Linked DNA regions of Homo sapiens: region 2 is linked to region 1. Evidence: promoter capture Hi-C in human tissues and cell types (Jung and others, 2019). All regions are on one chromosome and are shown on one strand. The core of a region is centred on a gene start or on the middle of the fragment in contact, and the rest is flanking DNA. Distances in the headings are between cores, read along the strand shown. Region 1 holds the start of KCNJ12 (potassium inwardly rectifying channel subfamily J member 12). Region 2 overlaps KCNJ12 (potassium inwardly rectifying channel subfamily J member 12).

Region 1 (4,066 bases), core at 1,536-4,035:
TATCACTGCTGTCATTATTATTTTGCTGTTGCAGGGCCACTCAGTGTTACTTTGTCCTGCTTCAAGGAGACCCAGGGATGGGGACACCATGGCCCTGGGGCAGGAAGGCTGGTGGGGTAAGCGCCTGGCCTGGAAAGAGCTAGGTGAAGGCATCTGTCCAAACCCAACCCACTGCATGGTTTTAGGCAATACCCCTCCACCACTTCCCAGGCACCTCTTCCTTCCAGCACAGTTGAGGCACATTCCTGGAGGGGTCCCCTCCGGGGCAGCCTGGAAACCTTATGGGGTTTTGACGGGGTAGCTGCAGGGGGAGTGTCCAGAGATGGACTGACAGCTCAGGTCCTGCCCCTCCCAGAGAAGGCTCCACCCCCTTCAGTGCTGGGGATGAGGGGTGTCAGCCATGCCCTCCCCTGGGAGGGGAAAAAGGAGGTGATAGAGGACTTGGAGCCCCTACCTGCCAGCTCTGGGTCAACAGCCAGCATTTACAGACTGCCTACTGTATGCCTACAGCGGCCCTCCAGTGGAGAAGAGGGGTGTCCCTGTGGCCCAGCACACTGGAGCCACCCTCCTCGTCTCCAGGGTGCTCGAGTGAGTGCCCTCCGCCCTCACTCCCTGCTCTCTCTCAGGCGGCTTGGCCCCACCAAATGGCAGGCCCCCAGGGTCCCCCTCCTAGAGCTGCCAACCTCGGGTCCCCTGTCTGGTTGGAGGTGCCACCAGAGAACTGAGGGGCAGACTTCGCTGTGAAGTCTTTTGTTGGGGGGGGCGGTCCCAGCAGACACTGAGGGGCTCTTCTCAGAATACAGAAGGGAGTACCCCTCAAAAAGAGCGAAAGCCTCTGGTGGCGCCCAGGGCTGAGATGGACCTCCCCTCTCTGACCCTCGCCCGCCACAGGGCGGCGGTCCAGGGCGGAGCTGCGCGAGGAGGGGCCGCGGAGGTGCAGCGCAGCGCGAGGGAGGCTGGGGTCCAGCCGCGCGGCCAGGGACCGGCTCTCCTTTGGCATCTCAGAGGGGGCGAAGGCTAGGCCCAAGGCTAACGCCTTCCGGGTTCGCACCTTCCAAAGGCGGCTGCCGATTTCAGTGGCGTGTGGGCGCCTCGGCGCTCTCGGAGACGGAGCCTGTGAACCTGGGTTTGGGGCGCAGATGTGGGAGCCAGGAGGTCCCCAGCGCTTTATTGCAGGGCTCGAACCTGGGTATAGGGGAGCAAAAAAGAAACTAGAAATGGCCACAGGCAGCGCGGTACTCTAAGATGGGAACGCCCCCTGGGAAATGGGGAGGGGGAGGTCCCAGGTGCGGGCGAGTCCAGGCTGTGAGGAGGCAGGAAAACCTCCCAGAACAAGACCGTCCCCAAAGAAACACTTTGACCCCCATTCTGATCACAGGTTTTAAAATATTCACATGACATGGGCACGCTGGATCAAAACCGAGGCACAGACACTCGCTTGGGCCTCAACTCCCATCTGAACCCCCCAAGGAGCGCCCCACCCCAGCTGTCTCTGCCCATGAGCCCCTGATTCCCGCCCCGCTCCCCCAGGGCACCCGGAGAGGCCGTGCGCGCGCAGGGTGGACCCTGGCCCTGAAACCCTGGGAGCTTCTCAGCCAGCGGCCATCCCCTCGGAGATCAAGGCCGACTTCTAAAAGCAAAAGGGAGCCTCTGGACTTGGCTGACTTGCTGGCATGGAATCATTTCCAGAATATTTTTACTCCATTACAGCACGGGAGGTGAGAAAGAGACACGACTCCAAGAACCCGCAGGTCTCTGACGGGAGGCATTCTCGGGGCGGCTCATATAGCCCGGGCGCCCACCTCCGAACCCCACCTCGATCGCGGGGTCTCCGGGAAGGTCACGCGTAGGACCCGTGCCGCGCGCCAGAGTGCTTCCGCACGCTCCCTCCCGAGCCCCCTAGTGCAAACCAGTCAGAGGGGGGCCGAGGGCTCCTCAAAGTTTCCCGGAGCGCCCCCCAGGACGAAGGTTAGCCAGGAGCAAAGTTCCTTGTGGTGGTAGCCGGAGACATGGCAGGAAAAGAAAAGCTCGCAGTCAGCATTTCCTCCGATGTCTCACCAAGGGAGGGAAAAAAATAAAACGAGAGGAAGAAAACACCCTCCCGCTCCACCTTCCCTGTTGCTGCACAACCTCGTGCTAGCTCCGGGCCGGGCTAGTGGCGAGGCGCGGCCTGCGGGGAACTGGGGCCGGGCCCGGGAGGGACCATGCGCCCGCGGCCGCGCACTTACCTCGGTCAGTGGCCCGGGCGCGGCGCGCTCGGCGTCCTCCAAGCTCCGGGCGGCCGTTCCTGGCCCCGGCAGCTGCCGCGCTGGCTGCATCGCCGCCGCTGCCGCCACCGCCTCAGGGCAGCTCCCGGGGGCGCTCCATGCCGAGGGGCGCGTCTTCTCTGCAAAGCGGATCGCCCTGGTCCAGCCACGGGTCGGGGGCGCGCGCCTGGACGGCGCCCCCGGCCGCTGGGCGCTCGCTTGGGCCGGGGCGGCTGGCGTCGGTCCCTCGGTCCGGCTGTGAGCACGGCCGGCCCACCCCCTCCCCCGCCGGCTGTTATCTGATCTCGGGCAGGGCCCGGCGCGCTCCCCTACGCCCCGGCGCCCCGCACCTCCTCGCAGGCTCTGACCGCGCCAGTCCCCCTCCCCCGGCTACTGTTCCCAGGGAGGCGGCAGCAGTGGCGGTGTGGCCGGGAGAAGACGGGGAGCGAGGAATGGAGGGCGAGGAGGCGGCGGGAGGCAGAGGCTCGGCGCGCACCCAGCTCCGCGCCTCGCTCCACCGGAGCTCAGCTCGGCAACTCCTCTAACTCTCCGCGGAGAGCACGCCCGCCCCGCGCCGCGCCGCGCCGCGCAGCCGCTGCACCAGCCTACCACGGCTCCGGCCTGGCCCCGAGCCCCTCCTAGTCCCGGGCCGCCCCCTACACACACACCGCCAGCCACTTGCGCACTGGGACGCGCGCGCGCACACACACATATATATATACACACACACACACACACACACACACACACACACAGGCACGACTTCCCGGGGACATGCGCGCACACACACATACACACACATGCAGGCACGTCCGCCGGGGACACGCGCGCACGCACAGGTGCATGGCGAGCACACACACAGGCATAAACATGCAGGATACATGCCCCCACATGCATGATGTTCGCAGGGGCACATGTGCACACTCGCTCATATGTGCACATGCAGGATGGCATCTGCACGTGTGCATACGCACACACAGGTCTAAGCTTGTGCATTCCCACAGAGCCCTTTTCCCCTGCACACCAGGCACGCACCCTCTACACACACCATCCCACCCTAATAGCATTTTTCTCCTCTCCATCTTGAGCTGCTTGGCTTCTCCCATCTCCTGCCTTCTCTGTGCTCCTCCCTGGACCTCTCTCTGCCGACCGGATCCCCATGTGACCCCCTTCTCTTTCGAGCCCCTGTCTCTGGAGGCTCAGGCTTTCTTCCCAACCTGTCCCCAAATGCCCTGCCCTCCCAGCTTTCTGAGGCCTATTGTCTGGGCCTCATATCTCTGAGCCTCCCGCAGGGGCCAAGTCTTTCATCCTGGCAGACAGACCTGCTCGCCTGGACACTGACCCAGGGGAACTCCATTTTGTCACCAGTCTGACCCCCAGCTCGGCCCTAGGGCCTCAGAATTGGGCCGAGGAGGCCAGTCTGTGCCCAGAGCATGAGCCTCAAAGGGCTCCTTGGCCCCCTTGGCCTCCAGCTTCCCCTTTAATGTGAAATATAATTATGTGTCTGCACAGCAGGGAGACTGGCTGCAGGATTCTAACCGAGGAGGACGGCTCTCTGGCCCGCACCCAGATTGCTGGCGGCTCAGAGCAGAGTGATCTGCAGGCCCCACCAGCCCTAGGATCCTGGCCCCAGGCAGCTGGTGGGTGAAATCCAGCCCAGCACTCACCGACATCAGTCTGCCCTGGGTTTGAATCCCACCTCAACTGACTAGCTGTGGGACAGGTCACTTCACCACTCAGTGCCTCTGTTTCCCTGTTGTCAGTAGAAATCACTACACTCATGGGGCTGTAGCAAGGATTAAATGAGATGAGTCTACCTA
Region 2 (3,971 bases), core at 461-2,960, 36 kb before region 1:
GCTTCCCGCATCTCTAAGGAAGATTGCAAGGCTGCTACCCTAGCACCTGGGCAGTGCTCAGGGGTGTCACCTGTTCCCAGCACCACCCTCAGCTCACTGCAGGCAGCACCTGGCTCCAGGCCAGCCTACTGCACATTCAGGCACCCCAGGACAGGCCCCGCAGCAGGGCATCCATGCCAGCCAGAACAAAGCCTGCTCTCAGCCACTGACGTGCCCACCCCCGGGACACACAGGCTGTGCTGCCCCCACTAAAGGCCCCACACTGGCCTGTCAGTGACAGGCTAGGGCATCTGCAAGCTAGGGGCTATGGCACCGCCTGGCCCACAGCCACATCTGGATGGCAGCCTGCCTTGGCTGGGCTAGGCTGGAAGCAGGGAGACCTGGGCCTTCCAGCATTAGCCCCGACGGAGGAGCTGGACAGGCCCACCCCTCCCCGCCCACAGGGACCCAGCACCCCCAGTCCCAGTCCAGTCACACCATAACCTCAGAGCTAGACAAAGCCTTCTCCCTTAGCACACCTGCAGCCACATTACTCAGTTACGAAGACACTGAGGCCCCAAGAGAACATCCTGGGGGGATGGCACCACTGTGAACCAGGCGCTGCACACAGCCTTCTGCAGGCCTCTCAAGCCCTCCAGGGAGGGGTGGGCCACCCTGCTTTACAAACAAGGACCTGGAGGCCCAGAAGCCAGAATGGACTTGTCCCAGTCCCATAGGCAGGAGGCAGCAATGCCAGGACTCAGCCCCGGTCTGTGTGACCCAGCTTCTGGCCACGTCCACACTAGTCTGGGCCTCGGAGCGGGTGCGGCCTCTGAGCTCTGCTCCAAACACCTGAGCAACAGGTGATGGTGGAGCCGCCTGCCCGGCCAGGCTGTGGAACACTCCCAGGGGCTGCCTGGTTGCTTAGCCCCGAGCCCGCTGGTCCGAGCAGCACACAGCAACTGCCGCCTGAGAGAGACACAGGGAGAGCAGGCGGGGTCCTGGGCGCCTTGGGGGACAGATCCATCAACAGCTGCCCTCAGATCGTCCTCTCAACAACCCGGGGGTGCAGCCACCATCCAGGTTCAGAGAAGTTAAGTGACTTCCCCCAGGCCACACAGCCATTAAGCAGGAGAGTTGAGTTTTAAACCACCTCTAGCGCCGTCCCCCACCATGGGCCCCCAAGCTCTGCAGGGATGCCTTTCCTTACTCTGCCGTCCTCCCCCAACACCGCTGTGGCTGACCACCTCACCATGACGCTGAGGAGCTGGGACGCAGGGCCGGAATGGTGGACACTGCTTCTGCCTGGGCCTGGAAGTAGGGAGCCGGCAGCAGGGGGGACCCCTGAGGCTGTGCTGGGAAGGGGGCTCAGCCCCAGATTCCTGGACCCTCCAGAAAGAGGCAGCCAGGGCCGGGGCACTCAGACGCCGGCGTGAGGCCACCAGCTGACAGGGGCTGGATTTGTGTGGCCCAGGGGCCTTGAGGGACTTCCAGCGGGTCATGGCTGCTCCAGCCCCTGCTCCGAGCAGCTCAAAGCCTGCAAGGAACAGAATCACAAGAATTAAAGGCCAGAGAGCCCGGTCTGCATGTGCTCCCAGCAGCTGGCGGCCTCGAAACTGGCCAACTACCAGACTGGTGAGGGTGCTGCCACAGCTCCTGGCATCTCTGCCAGGGCTGGGCACCGCAGACCTGCCCAGATGGTGTCATACAGGCTTGGAAACCCCCACTTCTGTCGACGTTCCTCTCTGCGTGGTTTTACCACACAGAGAGCATCAACAAGGTCAAGTTCATGCCCCACTCCCTCATTTCTCAGAGCCAAAAACTGACAAAGACACCTGTCCCAGGACCCCTGGAAACTGAGCAGAAGAGAGAGTTGGAGCCCAGAATGTCAGTCCTCAGCCTCACACAGCCCTGCTCTGCCGTGTGTGCGTGTGTGTGTGTGTGAGAGAGAGAGAGAGAGAAACCCTCCCCAGGGGTGCTGGGAGCCCCCTCACTGGGCACTTGGTGAATACAGCACCACAAAGACAGACCCAGAAGGGGACCCTGGCATAGAAACCCTAGCACCACAAGCTAGACAATGTCTCAAGAACACTCCTGCGTAAACACAGGTGTGGCAAGATGTTACACAACCATGCGGCCTTCAAGGTCGCAATATAAGAAATATAGGACAATATCCTCCACCAGGGACACACAGGCCTTTTTGGCTCTTGCTCAATGGGGTGCATACAGTGAAATCAGACAAGACATGAAATCAGAGAAACTGTTTTGCTGGAAGAGGCCTTAGCAAGCAAGAAGGCTGGCTCCCCATTTCACAGATGGGAGAACCAAGTCCAAAAAGAAAAAGAGACTTGTCCCAGGTCACAAAGCAATTCAAGGGCCAAGACAAGGTGCTCACTACTAAAGGTAGGACCGTTTTCCGCAGACACCCAGGTTGGCCTGCCAGGGTCCCAGGGTCGCCGGGAGGGGAATGGGAGAGGGGCGCTGGGGTACACTACCTGAGCTAGACAAGGCGGTTTCAACACCAAGGGGCAGTGAAGCAAACCCAGGAGGGAGAGAGCAGGCAGTGGGGAGAGAGCACGGGCCCGGCAGACCCCCGGAGATCCCTGCTTTCCTGCTGGCCACAGTGCCTACAGACGCAGCCTCCCAGCGACCAGTCCACTTGAAGAACAGACCAGGACCTGGGCTGGGAGCTTTTAGAGAGGATGCCAGACGGCAGCTGCCACGTGACCTAAGGGTGGGGTCCAGGAGTCACCGGGAGGTGCTTCCGGATGGAACTGGATGCCCCATGCCCACTGCCCTGAGGCCCTGGGCTTCTCAGGTTTCGGTGACATCCGGGAGGAGCTCAGGGCAAGGCCTGGACCCACATTCCCAGACACCAAGAAAGCACTGACCGGAAGGGAGAGTGCAGGCGCCTGCATCACCCAGGGTAAGACATAGGGACTCGGAGGGGGAGGCGCCAACAGCCCCCATCCCCCATGCAGAGACTGTTCAGCTAGCTGGGGCGCCTCACGAGGCACGAACACAGCACTCAGTATCTATCAAGTGCTTACTACCTGCCACGTGCTCTTCTAAGAGCTTTAATAAACTGATTCATTTAATCCCTTCCATCACACTGTGATTATTATCCCCATTTTCCAGATGAGCAGACGGAAGCCTAGGAAGATTGAGTCACTGTGATGGTTACACAGCCTTTCAGGAGTGAAGCTTCCAGGCTGGGCTGTAGGGGTGAAACCAGTGCCCCACAACACCAAGACCTGAGGCCTGACTGTGTGCGTGGCACTGCAATCCTTTTGGTCCCAAGCCCCTGCAGTCCCAGGTGGTGATGAGATGTAGACTGCTGCAAATCGGCACTCAAAAGCACAGGTTCAAGGGCCCTCACCAGCACTCCAACCCACGGCCACTCACCCTCATTCGGAGATGGGGCACTCTACCTCATGATCAAGCCTCACCGTTGGAAGACCCCTCAGAGATCACTCAATGCAGGGAAGGCTGGCGCACGCCTCCCCGCCCAAGGTGCCTGCTCCAGCCTCGCCCAGGCAAGCACCATTCCTCAGCCACAGAGCTTCATCCACTGCATCCAGAGCAGCTCAGAATCTTTCCTAATCCAGGCACCATTCATCAGATGCAGCACTGGGGCCTGGAAAGCCCAGCCCTTCCTTTGCAGATGGGGAGACTGAGGCTCTGAGCCGGTGCCCTTGCTCCGTCACATAGGGTGTGAGAGGCAGGGCTGGCTGCAGGGTTAGGGGCTCTCCCTCATGGCAGGCCCTGCCCAGGGTATAGGACCACATCAAGGCTAGGCTGGGCACAGGCAGCCAGGAGGGGCACTCCTGGGGGACACTGCCAGAGCCAGGAGTGGGAGGCAAAGACGTGTTGGGCACCCTGGGGGCAGTGAGGAAGCTTGGCTGGATGGGGGAGAACCCAGGCTGGTGTGGAGGGGAGAGGGAGAGTGGTGGGTGGCATTCCTATGTCTCATAATCTGGGAAGAAGATGAT

What was found. The method cuts DNA at HindIII sites, captures the fragments that hold promoters and counts their contacts. A contact is called where the count stands out against the background at its distance.
Region 2: a fragment that was not itself captured here is called in contact with the fragment with the promoter of KCNJ12 in region 1 in 1 of the 25 tissues and cell types used here (pancreas).

What each region holds. Positions count from the first base shown.
Region 1 is chr17:21,375,076-21,379,141 of GRCh38, reverse strand. KCNJ12 (potassium inwardly rectifying channel subfamily J member 12) reads right to left here and starts at 2,785. Exons shown (of 3, transcript NM_021012.5): 1 at 2,229-2,785. The HindIII fragment of the contact is 9,762 bases long and covers 1-4,066 here.
Region 2 is chr17:21,409,981-21,413,951 of GRCh38, reverse strand. The region is part of intron 2 of KCNJ12 (potassium inwardly rectifying channel subfamily J member 12); the gene reads right to left. Among named protein-coding and RNA genes, the nearest start is that of KCNJ12, 36 kb to the right of the region's middle. RefSeq lists enhancers at 2,247-3,206, 3,207-3,971. The HindIII fragment of the contact is 3,641 bases long and covers 1-3,530 here.